Regions from separate parts of the Homo sapiens genome. Here region 2 is linked to region 1. Evidence: promoter capture Hi-C in 16 types of primary human blood cells and fetal thymus (Javierre and others, 2016). All regions are on one chromosome and are shown on one strand. The core of a region is centred on a gene start or on the middle of the fragment in contact, and the rest is flanking DNA. Distances in the headings are between cores, read along the strand shown.

Region 1 (6,558 bases), core at 1,505-4,004:
GTGCATCACTATGAGGTGAAAGAGTGGGAGGAAGAACAGCACCGCCCAGCGTTCCGGGAGTAAGTGAGCTTTGTGCTTCGATTAGATGACCCCACTAATTTTCCCCACCAATATTGTCTCCATCTTCAGTCTTGGACAGGATAGATACAAAGTTTGTCTTAAAATCCCCTAGTTTGGGGAGGGACCCTCACTAACTGTGTTGCTCAGGATGGTGTTTAACTCCTGGACTCAAGTGATCTTTAAGCCTCAGCCTCAGGAGTAGCTGGGACTCCAGGCAGATGCCACCATGCCTGGCCTTAAATTCTGAATTCCTGAAACCCTACTTAAAGGAATAACTTCCCTATTCTAAATTCTAATTATTGTGGCCTGGCACTCACCTTCTCAGGAGCATTGATGACCCCAGTGTTGTAGCCAAATTGGAAAGAGCCGATTGTAGCAACTGTGATGGCAAATATCAGAGCTGGGGTGACCTGGAGGGAGGGAAGACAGAGGAGAGAATAGTCCTTAAAACTTGTGATTGATGACTGTTTCTTATTAATTATGGAGCTGTATTAGGAGAATTTGAGTTATGAGTGGTATGAAAAGAACATCCAATGAGATTTAGGTAATTAATGGGGAAGACAAAGGAATAGATTATACTAAAGAACTTATCTGGAGATAAGAATGTGAAGTTAACTTGGTAAAAATGAAAGAAAATTGGGGAAGGAAGAAGTTAAGAGAAACTGGGTTGGTCAGTTTGGAAATATTTAAAAACTTGCATCAGGCAAATGTAGGCATAGAATTCCACTCACGAACTGGGAGGGCAGAGAAAAAGACAGTCTCGGGTAGGATTACTAAGAATTGACCATTCTGGAAACAAATACAGTGCAGTCTGATCTGTACCCCAGACTCCACGGAAGCCCACTGGTGGTGGTGGAGGGGGTGGTAGTTTGTGTCTTCACTGCTGGGTGGCTCTTTGAGTCTCTTATCTCTCAGGACCATGTAACCTACTGGATCTACTCACTGCATCCTGGCCCCATTTCAGTCTTCGTTTATTAAATACAGTTCTGCTATCCCTAACTCCCGCGCAGGGGAAGAAAGTACTTACTCTGAACCCAACATATAAGGGCGAACCCAACATATAAGAGACATTTCTTAGTGGGGAGAACCGGTCATCTTCACCTTGCCTGGAATAATTCAGCCGGGCGAGACATTTTCCATTTCTACCTTGGGGCAGCTCAATTTTTATACCTGAGGCCAACTTCTACGCCATTCCCCCCCACCCCACCACCCAAAATCCCTTCAACCTTTCATATCTTAAACTCCTTTCCTTTCAGGTCGGGCAGATTAGGCAGCAGGCTGGGAGCTTCAGCAGGAGAAGTGACCTTGCCTGCAGCCTCCCAGATGTCTCAGTCCCAGCTAAGCATCGGTACCCCGGAGGGCCCTGCCAGTGCAATGCTCTGTTAAATCTTTTTCCGTTTAGTAAAAATCTCTTCTGTCTCCTCTCATCATTCACTATCTTTGAGAGCCTTTTCTTCTTTAGTCTCATAATTTTCCATCCCTTTCTTATTTTCCTACATTTTCTTTCTTTCTGCTTTGTAGAGATGGGATCTCACTATATTGCCCAAGGCTAGTCTCAAACTCCAGGCCTCATGTGATCCTCCTGCCTTGGTTTCCCAAATGCTGGGGTTATAGGTGTGACCCACCACACCTGGCCCCTTATTTTTAGTTAAATTTATCTTGGTAAAAAATGCCTTTCTTGCTGCGCGCAGTGGCTCATGCCTGTAATCTCAGCACCTTGGGAGGCCGAGGCCGGCGGATCGCCTGAGGTCGGGAGTCGAGACCAGCCTGACCAACATAGAGAAACCCCGTCTCTACTAAAAATACAAAATTAGCCGGGCCCGGTGGTTCATGCCTGTAATCTCAGCTACTCAGGAGGCTGAGGCAGGAGAATCGCTTGAACCCGGGAGGCGGAGGCTGTGGTGAGCTGCGGTCGCTCCATTGCACTCCAGCCTGGGCAACAAGAGTAAAACTCAATCAGAAAAAAAAGAAAAGCCTTTCTCCCTGCAAATAATGCATATACAACACTCAATATTTTAGTATGTCCTGCACTCACGATTTTAACCCTAATAGGAAGGACAACTGGAATTCTTTCTCCTTAGCATCCACGAACCCCATATGTTATAGGACAAACAGATGGCCAGACCCTGGCCTGTGCCTCCAAACACAGACCTTTTCAAGGTCTAATGCTTCCAGAGAAGTCTTCACACTGGCTCTGAGACCCACACTTGTAATCCATACAACCAAGCAGCCCGATCCTCTAAACACTCAACCATCTCGTCCTCAGTGGCATATGGTTACCTAAAATAAACCTGAGAAGCAAACACAACTTCTCCGGGTGACTTTCCTATGATAAGGTGAACAGAACTGTATGACATTCAAAGAGAACTGATGAAGCGGCAGCAGTGCAGGCTAGAGACGAAATGAAAAGGCCTTAAGATAGCTTGGTGACTTAGGAGAAAATAGAACAAGGAGATTACCATTAATATTTGCCTTTCTGAGTGTATCCCAAACAAGCAAAAATAACCAGTAATTATATCATTCTTACCTTCTGTGTCCCCATCGCTGTAATCTAATTCAAGTCTTCAAGAAAGATCTAGGGGTGATTCCAGAAACAGCTTTTTCAGCCAACAAAACCTTCAAAATGTCCTTCTCAGCAGCAAGTTTTCTCCACGTCCTCAGGAAGGATCCAAAGTCTTACCATTACAGCATCTCTGGGTCTCGCTGGGATCATGACTATTTATAATCTCCGCAAAGGGTGGAGCCTGAAAGGGCGACAAGCCCCCAGCCCCACCCCACCCCACCCCACCCCCCTGAAGCAATCTTGTGATCTCTCGGAATTCTGTGTTATCAGAACTACCCCCGCCCCCGCCCCACAGACAATAACGCCCTCCCTCCCCCCTCTCTTAAAACCACATCCTTCCACTCTCTCCACCCTGGGTTTTTTTTTTTTTTTTTTTTTCAAAAGCTCATCCTTACTCCTTCCCTCTTCTAATAGCAGCTAGAGCCTCTTAGTTTCACAGACAAAATACTACCAGAAAAGCCTGGAGGGAGGGCAAATACACTATTTTATGCTCTCGCATCTGCTTGGGATTAAAACAATCTACAGAGAGATTAGAATAAATCTATCCATACAAAACGAAGTCAAGTGGGTGCTACTATCAGAGATTTAAGGTTGTTAGAAAGAGTGTTAGTAAGAATTCTTGATCCTATGAATTTATAGGCTGGGTCTACAATCTTTTTTTTTTCTTTTTTTTTTGAGACGGAGTACACAATCTTAAAGGGGAGGGAAAGACAGCCTGAGAGAAGAAAATCAGGGAAATAATTTTGCCAGTGTTCCTTTCTTCGCATAATCTCACCTGGAGGGAAGAAAATCTGAATTTCTAGGAGCCAGACCAACTATCAGGGCAGTAGGAATAAGAGGTTCAACTGTTTATGGAATACAATCCATATCCTTTTTTTTTTTTTTTTTTTTTTTTTGATATGGAGTCTCTCTCTGTCGCCCAGGCTGGAGTGCAGTGGTGCGATCTCGGCTCACTGCAACCTCCGCCTCCCGGGTTCAAGCAATTCTCCTGCCTCAGCCTCCCGAGTAGCTGGGACTATAGGCGCCCGCCACCACGCCCCGCTAATTTTTGTATTTTTAGTAAAGACGGGGTTTCACCATATTGGCCAGGCTGGTCTCAAACTCCTGACCTTGTGATCTGCCCGCCTTGGCCTCCCAAAGTGCTGGGATTACAAGTGTGAGCCACCGCGCCGAGCCCTATATTTAATAAGGCATTTGCCATATCACCCATTCTGAATTCTGCATCACTTTCTGCTAGTCTCAAGCTTATAGCATCTAGAAATGCAATAAATACCGAATTCAATTAAGCAGGTATTTGCCGAATACACGCTATGTATCAGGTACTCTCCAAGAAGCTGGTGATTCTTCAGTGAATAATAGAAAAAAAGGCCGGGCGCGGTGGCTCACGCCTGTAATCCCAGCACTTTGGGAGGCCGAGGTGGGCGGATCACGAGGTCAGGAGATCAAGACCATCCTGGCTAACACGGTGAAACCATTCTCTACTAAAAATACAAAAAAAAAAAAAAAAAAAAAAAAAATTAGCCGGGCATGGTGGCGGGCGCCTGCAGTCCCAGCTACTCGGGAGGCTGAGACAGGAGAATGGCGTGAACGCGGCAGGCGGAGCTTGCAGTGAGCCAAGACAGCGCCACTGCACTCCAGCCTGGGCGACAGAGCAAGAATCCGTCTCAAAAAAAAAAAAAAAAAAGAATAATAGGACAAAAGAGTTCTGACCCACAAGTCATTTATAGTGTTTCCCTTCTTCCCTTTTTATAAAGTATAAAAAGGGACTAGGGCAAGTAATTCTCACATAACTGGAAAAGATTATTAATATCCTATTAGTTATGGACTGTGAGTTTCTTGAAAGAAAAGTGTTACATAAGTATCTGATTACTAAGCTATACAAGAAAACTGAACAAGCTAAGCAGGAGAAGAAAATAGGAATGAGAACTGAGGGAGGGATAATCGGGGAGAGAGAAGAGTGGTTCCAGGTTGAGAGTAAACAAAGCAAAACAACTTGGTTTGTGTTTAAACAGCTGGGTAAGTGAGAGATAGTATCTAGGCTTTTTTGGAGGAGGAATATCAACTATCAAATTCCTAATGCCCATTCATTTGTAGCTTGCAACCCTTTCAGTACTGGAGGTGGCAGGGTGGGTGAAGGACGCTTGGTAAAGAGATAAACTTTTTCCCAGTGGTGAATTGGAGAAAGTGTATCTTCCTTTAGGGTTTTGGTTGAGGGCCTAGAATTCAAATTGATACTGCTGGACCCGAGAAAACTAGATTACTGTTGCTTCCTTTGCTTTAACGAGGATATTGTTAAAATCTGATTTGATGACAACTCCCCTCCCCCATCTCACCATTGCCTTCCAGGAAATGCTGAGCCAGAGGCCCCTTTAGTCACCACAGCAACTGAATTTAGTATCTAAAGGAAAAAGGATATCCCAAAGGGCAGTGCTGTCCAATAGAAATATAATATGAGCATGTCACATTATGGTTTCTAGTAGCCACACTAAAAATTTTAAAAGAAACAAGATAAATTTTTTTCATAATTATTTTATTTAACCCAATATATCCAAAACATTGTCATTTCAGCATGCATTCAATATAAAAATTAATAGTTTACTTTTTTGTACTAAGTCTTTGAAACATATTGTATATTTTAAATTTACAAATTAAAGGGATATGTAGCCCCACCAAAACAACAAAGTTGTGTTTATCAGGAAAATATTTTAAGTTGCATATCGAGCGTTGCATGCAGGCAAATTGCATACAGCCAAGCCTGGCCGCCTAGCCCAGTCGTACACCAGGGTGGTCTTGATCTCTTGATCTCTCTTTTTTTTTTTTTTTTTTAGACAGAGTCTTGCTCTGTTGCCCAGGCTGGAGTGCAGTGGCGCGATCTCGGCTTACTGCAAGCTCCACCTCCCGGGTTCACGCCATTCTCTTGCCTTAGCCTCCCGAGTAGCTGCGACTACAGGCGCTTGCCACCGTGCCCGGCTAATTTTTTGTATTTTTAGTAGAGACGGGGTTTCACCGTGGTCTCCATCTCCTGACCTCGTGATCATCCCGCCTTGGCATCCCAAAGTGCTGGGATTACAGGCGTGAGCCACCGCGCCCGGCGATCTCTTGATCTCGTGATCCCCCCACCTCAGCCTTCCAAAGTTCTGGGATTGGCTGGGCGCAGTGGCTCATGCCTGTAATCCCAGCACTTTGGGAGACTGAGGCGGGCAGATCACCTGAGGTCACGAGTTCGAGACCAGCCTGGCCAATGTGGTGAAACCCTGTCTCTATTAAAAATACAAAAATTAGCTGGGCGTGGAGGCGGGAGCCTGTAATCCCAGCTACTGGGGAGGCTGAGGCAGGAGAATCGTTTGAACCCAGGAGGCGGAGGTTGCCGTGGGCAATTGCACTCTAGCCTGGGTGACAAGAGGGAAACCCCATCTCCAAAAAAAAAAAAGTGCTGGGATTACAGGTGTGAGCCAGCTCGCCCGGCCCTGGCCATATATATTTTTAAAGGTTACAATTGGAATTCAGCCGAGTCTTGAGAATCTACAAATGTGTTGACCTGGGCACAGTGGCTCACATCTATAATCCCAGCATTTTGGGAGGTTGAGGTGGAAGGATCACTTGAACCTAGGTGTTTGAGACCAGCCTGGGCAACACAGTGAGACCCCTTCTCTACAAAAAAAAAAAAAAAAAAAAAAATTAGCTGGACGTGGTAATGGCAGGTGCCTATAGACCCAGCTACTTGGGAGGCTGAGGTGGGAGGATCACTTGAGCCCAGGAGGTAGAAGCTGCAGTGAGCTATGCAGTCTGGGCAACAGAGTGAGACCCTGCCTCAAAAAAGAAAAAAAAAAGTGTGTTGAGCATATTGAGACAAGTATTCCTTGAGCAAGTGGGACCTAGGAGGAACCTGATGCTCAAAAACCAGTTCTGCACTGGGCTGGCCCCCAAAGCAACAG
Region 2 (6,160 bases), core at 2,538-5,037, 310 kb before region 1:
ACTACTAAAAAAGCTTTAAAGGTATCTCTCGTAAGGGGAGAAGTTTTGCAATTCAGATGTCTATGAAGGGCTTATATGCAGAATATATAAATGATTCCTACAGGTAATAAAAAAAGATAAACAACTTAGAAAAAATTGGGCAAGATACTTGAACAGATATGTCACAAAAAGTGATTTTCCAATAACCAAAGAGCATTTGAAAATTGCTCAATTTCATTAATCATCAAAGAAAACTCAAATGTTATATAACTACATCCCACTATAATGGCTAAAATGAAAAATACCTGAAAATTCCAAGTGTCAGTGAGGATGTGGAGCAAATAGATTTCTCAGGCTTGAGGGAGTATAACTAATACTGAGAGGTGAAACCAGCTGGACATCCTGGGTGAGTAGGGATTTGGAGAACTTTTCTGTCTTACAAGAGGATTGTAAAATGCACCAATCAGCACTCTGTAGCTAGGATTGTAAAACGCACCAATCGGCGCTCTGTAGCTAGGATTGTAAAACGCACCAATCAGCGCTCTGTAGCTAGCTAGAGGTTTGTAAAATGAACCAATCAGCAGGACATGGGTGGGGACAAATAAGGAAATAAAAGCTGGCCACCACCCGCCAGCAGTGGCAACCTGCTTGGGTCCCCTTCCGATGCTGTGGAAACTTCGTTCTTTCGCTCTTCACAATAAATCTTGCTGCTGCTCACTCTTTGGGTCCATGCCACCTTTAAGAGATGTAACATTTACCGTGAAGGTCTGTGGCTTCATTCTTGAGGTCAGCGAGACCACGAACCCACCAGAAGGAACCAATTCCATACACAAGACATCAAAAGACATGTACAAAATAGCCATAACAGTTTTATTTATAATAGCGCCAAACTAGAAAACACCAGCAGTAAAGTGAATAAATGAAATGTGGTCTATTCACACAATGGAGTGCAATATAGTAATGAGAATGAAAAAACTACAACCACAGCCAACAATATTATACATGGATCTCACAAACAATATATAAAATAAAAAATCCAACAGAGAGGATTATATCCTTTATAATTCTATTTATATGGATTTCCAAAGTACACTGGAAACGGTATTGTTAGATGTTTACCTACTGGTTATGTGATGGAGGATGGTAACTGAAAGAATGTACAAATGGGATTGGGGGTGTCAGCAATGTTTTTTCTTGACCTGGATGACAATTACATGAGTGTGTTCAATCTATGAAAGGTGTAGAAAAGAACAATGTAATTGTATGGTTTTTCGTATGCACTCAAACTTCAAAAACAACTTCAAAGTGTACTAAAAATTCTACTGAAGAAACTAGAAAAATAGGTTTAAGTAACCTAGAATGTGAGAAATATTTCAGTGTCTGAATGGATCCCACCTCCCCTTCAATTTTACTTTCAAGGCATTTCCCTTTCCGAAGTTGAGCAGCAGCTAAAATTCTTTCATGCCCTTGGTAGAAAATGTAAGGCTTCAGGCTCTGTGGAATCCTCACAGAGATAATTGATGCAACATTGTCATTTCTCTGGGTTAATGAGAGTTTATTATTTTCAGAAGGCTCTGGGGCAAGGATGAAGCATAGTGAATTGTAAAGTAACTGTGACTCACAGGGAGAGGGAGAACCCTGCTCCCTGTGAGCATGGCTTGTTCCTTCTGCTTCAACCCATCTGAAGAGGATTGTCGCAGATTGGATTTTTCAGAAGCAGATGCTAAAACAAAGTGGCATTTATTCCTAAAAAATAAATGTTTTTAGGAATTAACACCTTGGAAAGAAAGCAGAGTCGGGGAATGATGAGACAACAAAATGTGATACGAGAAGAATTTGAACTGTGATCCAGGCACAACAGAGACCAAGCTGAGTATCTGGACCGAACTGAGGGTCAGGCTGCTATTTCTCATGGCCCAATAACAAGATGATAATGTACTGGGGAGGAAGAGAGTTTTTATCTCTGTAACCAATTATAAGGAAAAGGCCCAGAAATTTTCGCCAGACCAACTCAAAATTACAAAGTTTTCCAGAGTTCATAGACCTTCTAAGCTATATGTCTACATGTAAATGTGCATTCATCTAAAGACATAAGTGATTAACTTCTTTTAATCTATAACTAAGGTCTGAGTCCTGATGACCTTCCTCTGGAGCCTCAGTAAATTTGCTTAATCTAAATGAGTCTAGATGCTGGGGTGATTACCCTTATCTTGTCTCCTGCTAAATCACAAAGGTTTGGGGAGTTCCTTCAGACTTCCAATAGACATGTTTAATCATGCTTTAAGGTTCGGGAAAGGCCTAGGCAAAACTCTTGCTGGGCTTTTGTTACATTCCAACCTGTGTATAAGAGCACTGGCTTTTAATAGTTAACCACTCTGAAACAGTTGTTATGGAGGCCTGCATTAGTGAGACCTGGCCTGCCACAAAGCCATCTTGGTAGGGAGGGCTGCAGGTGCTGACTGAGTATTTCAATAATAAATTTTTCTTTTTTTTTTCTTCTTTTGAGACGGAGTCTCCCTCTGTCACCCAGGCTGGAGTGCAATGGCATGATCTCGGCTCACTGCAACCTCCGCCTCCCAGGTTCAAGCGATTCTCCTGCCTCAGCCTCCTAAGTGGCTGGGAGTACAGGCGCACACCACCAGACCTGGCTAATCTTTTGGTATTTTAGTAGAGACAGTGTTTTGCCATGTTGGCCAGGCTGGTCTCGAACTCCTGACCTCAGGTGATCCATCCACCTCAGCCTCCCAGAGTGCTGGGATTACAGGCATGCCTAGCCATAAATTGTTCTGATGATGTATTTCTGGTTTATGGAAAGGAAAAAAAAATTACAGGAGCCACAGAGATCACAGTAAGTATGATGGCGGGGGGAAAGAGCTACTCTTCGCACCATCAGAAGTATAATTCAAGGCAATAACTGTCTCATTTTCTGCCCTCAGAGCTGTGTTTGCTACTTAAAATATCTGTGAACCAATGAAAATTTCAAATGAGCAGCAGGATGTAAAGCAAATGAGAAATTTAAGCTGTGCTCCCAGAAGGCAATTATTATTAAATATATGTACCACAGCATTATCATCATCATACACATGAAATCAATTATCACCCTAAGCAACCACAATTTCAGTTACCTTATTTTCCTTAGGAAGTCTACCATCACTTACCAGATTTTTACCTAAATGAATTATTATTCATGTCAAAGAACAATAGTTTATTATACCAACATTTGTAGCTATCATAGCTTTACTTAGTTTATATTTTTATGTCTGACTGATTTACTCTACACCACTTAAAATATTGCCAACAACCAACAACATAAAAACAAAATGCCAGGTGAAGAATACAAACAAAATAGCCTTTCTATCTCCACTTAGGATATTATCAATCTTTTCTTTCCCCCTTGCACGAATATTTTTAGCATTGGATCAGGAATTTAGGTTAGCCAGAACAACAACCCTCAAAGTCTTAAGCAAGTATATCATACTTAATTCCTGAAAAATAAGGACTGTAAAACTTTATCCCACATTAATTGAATGAAAATTAAACACTTTTATTAAGCTAAAACCTCATTAGACTAGTAGGCTCCAGCCCCATGGTACCACTCTGCATTTAAACAATAAGAAATTTTTAGTTATTCCTCCTCCTTGCCAGTATGTGGTATTGTAAAGTCTTTTTATTTTAGCTATTCTAATCATTGTGTATTGGTATTTGGTTGTGGTTTTAATTTGCATTTCTCTAATGACTAGTGATGTTAATTTCAGGTGCCTATTTTCTATCTGAGTATCTTCCCTGGGGAAGTATCTGTTCAAATCTTTTTGCCTATTGTTTACTCTTTAAAATTGAGTTATGAGAGTTCTTTATGTATTCTAGATACAAACTTATTAACTATATGATGTGCAATTATTTTCTTCCAGACTATGGCTAGCCTTCCAATCTTTTAATGGTCTTTTGAAGAAGTAAAGTTTTTAATTTTCATAATATCTACCTTATTAGTTTGTCCTTTGGTGTTGGTCTTATGTCCAAGAACTCTTTGCTTACCCAAGGTGACAAAGATTTTTCTTTTAAATTTTCTTCTTCCTAGTGTTGGTGATGAGAAATTGGAAGTCAATATAATTGTATTTCCTTTGAGTATTATGTGTTTTTCCACTCTGAAGTTTAGATGAAGATTTATGTTTTAGCTAAATCCTGAAAATTTCTCATTTATTGTTGTTATAATTATTATTGATTGTACTCTACTCCATTTAATATTTCTATAACTTGGATGCATATTGAAATTTCTGTATATGTATCCTCCGTATCTCTTTTATATTCTTTGTCATTATTCCCCTTTTACTGTATTTTGGGAGAATTACTTATTTAGGTCTCTCGGGTCAAAATTTTTCTGGCATTATCCATTCTGTTCTTCACCTACTATCTTAAGGATTTTCTTTCTATTTTCATAGGGCAAACTTTTATTTTTATAATCTATGGCTTTTAAAATTAATAAAATATCGTTTAGTCTCTCTTTGAATATATTACTTATACTTCTTTTCTATATCTTCTCTGTTTTTTAAAACATGTTTCCTTGAGTGTAAAGTATTTCATTTGTTGTACTTACTGTTTTCATGGTCTTGCAAACCAAAAATGAAGATTTCTTCCTTCTCAGGGGAATCAAGGAAGAAGCCTCTCACTCAATTATGAGCCCCCAAAGCTGAAATTCTATTTAAGCCATTCCCTGAATTTTCTACATGAGAAAACAAATTATTTTCATGTGCCATATCACTACCAAAAATAAATATTAAATACAGTTCCATTATGTACATGGTGTGTTAGTGCTCTTCAACATTTAATAATCTACTACTACTGTACATAATCATATGAATGCATATATGTAATTGTACGTGGAAGAATATACCCCATGCATGTCAAGTGCAAGTGCCTGGGCCAGGCAATTTCCAAAGCACCTCTTCAGGTAGTCAGTTTCCATCCTGGGCCCAAGTTCAATTTCCAGGTTTTTTTTGTTATGGTTTGGTTTTTGGGTTTTTTATGTTGCAGCTGTTTGTTTTGAGACAGGGTCTCACCATCCTGGCTGGAGTGTAGTGGCGCGATTTTGTGTTGTTGTTGTTTTTAGATGGAGTCTAGCTCTGTCGCCCGGGCTGGAGTGCAGTGGCGCGATCTCTGCTCACTGCAACCTCCGCCCCCCAGGTTCAAGCGATTCTCCTGCCTCAGCCTCCCGAGTAGCTGGGACTACAGGCGTGAGCCACCGCACCCAGCCCCCAAGTTCCAGCTTTGATTCTGCCTCTTACTAGCTGTGTGATCTTCAACAAGTCACTCAGTCTCTGCAAACCTCGGTTTCCTCATCTGTCAGTCCCGCTTCCTCTTTGCTGCGCGCGCTCTCGTTGCCTGGCAACGGGAGGCGACGCCCGGATTGAGAGAGAGTAGGTGGGTGCATTGGGTGAGCGCCCACGACAGAGGCCGTTTTGACCGTTGGGCCTTGTCAGTTCCTTAGGACTCGCCTGGGTCTCCAGTCAGTGGCCGGAGGCGACTCCCGGATTGAGCCTAAGTGCGTGCGTTGGGTGCGCGCCCACCACAGAGGTGGTTTTGACGGTTGGGCCGTGTGAGTTGCTAGGACTCACCTGGGTCTCCAGTCAGTGCCGGGCTGCCGCCCCTGCCGCCGCCGCCGCCGCCCCTGCCGCCGCCGCCGCCGCCGCCGCCCCTGCCGCCGCCGCCCCTGCCGCCGCCGCCGCCGCCGCTCCTCTAGCGCTCCTCTGTGGAGAGCGCCGCGGGCACCTGCAAGACGGGGGGCGCCCCTTCCACAAACCCGAGTAGGAAAACCAACCTAAGGGCTCCAGGTGGAGCGTTGCCAGATACAATACAGTAACGCATGCGCAGTCAACTTTGAATTTCAGATAAACGAGTTACTTTTGAGTACAAATATAGTATCATACAAAGTTATTCGTTGGTTATCTGAAATTCAGGGTTACCTGGGAGTGCTGTGTTTATTTGCTGAGTCTGGCACCCCGGCCCGGGCCGCCTCCCTGTCCACTCTGGCTGGGTCTCCCAGGCATGGGCAAGGGACCTCCTTCTACCTCCTGTGGCAACTTCTTCAGGCTGGAGGCAGCTGTCTCTGTGGAAAGGGGCTTTCGTATGTTGAGCCAAGATGCCTATTGGTGTATGTGAAAAATAACACTACTAGGCCGGGCACGGT

What was found. The method cuts DNA at HindIII sites, captures the fragments that hold promoters and counts their contacts. A CHiCAGO score of 5 or more calls a contact.
Region 2: a fragment that was not itself captured here is called in contact with the fragment with the promoter of SLC2A3 in region 1 in 1 of 17 cell types (M1 macrophages); the score reaches 8.1 in M1 macrophages.

Annotation. Positions count from the first base shown.
Region 1 is chr12:7,933,433-7,939,990 of GRCh38, forward strand. It overlaps SLC2A3 (solute carrier family 2 member 3), which reads right to left and starts at 2,755. Exons shown (of 10, transcript NM_006931.3): 1 at 2,588-2,755; 2 at 378-470. The coding sequence starts at 2,602. RefSeq lists an enhancer at 863-1,816, a silencer at 2,884-2,933 and a cis regulatory region at 4,782-5,129. The HindIII fragment of the contact is 4,746 bases long and covers 1-3,865 here.
Region 2 is chr12:7,623,085-7,629,244 of GRCh38, forward strand. No RefSeq gene overlaps it. Among named protein-coding and RNA genes, the nearest start is that of APOBEC1, 40 kb to the right of the region's middle. The HindIII fragment of the contact is 7,553 bases long and covers 12-6,160 here.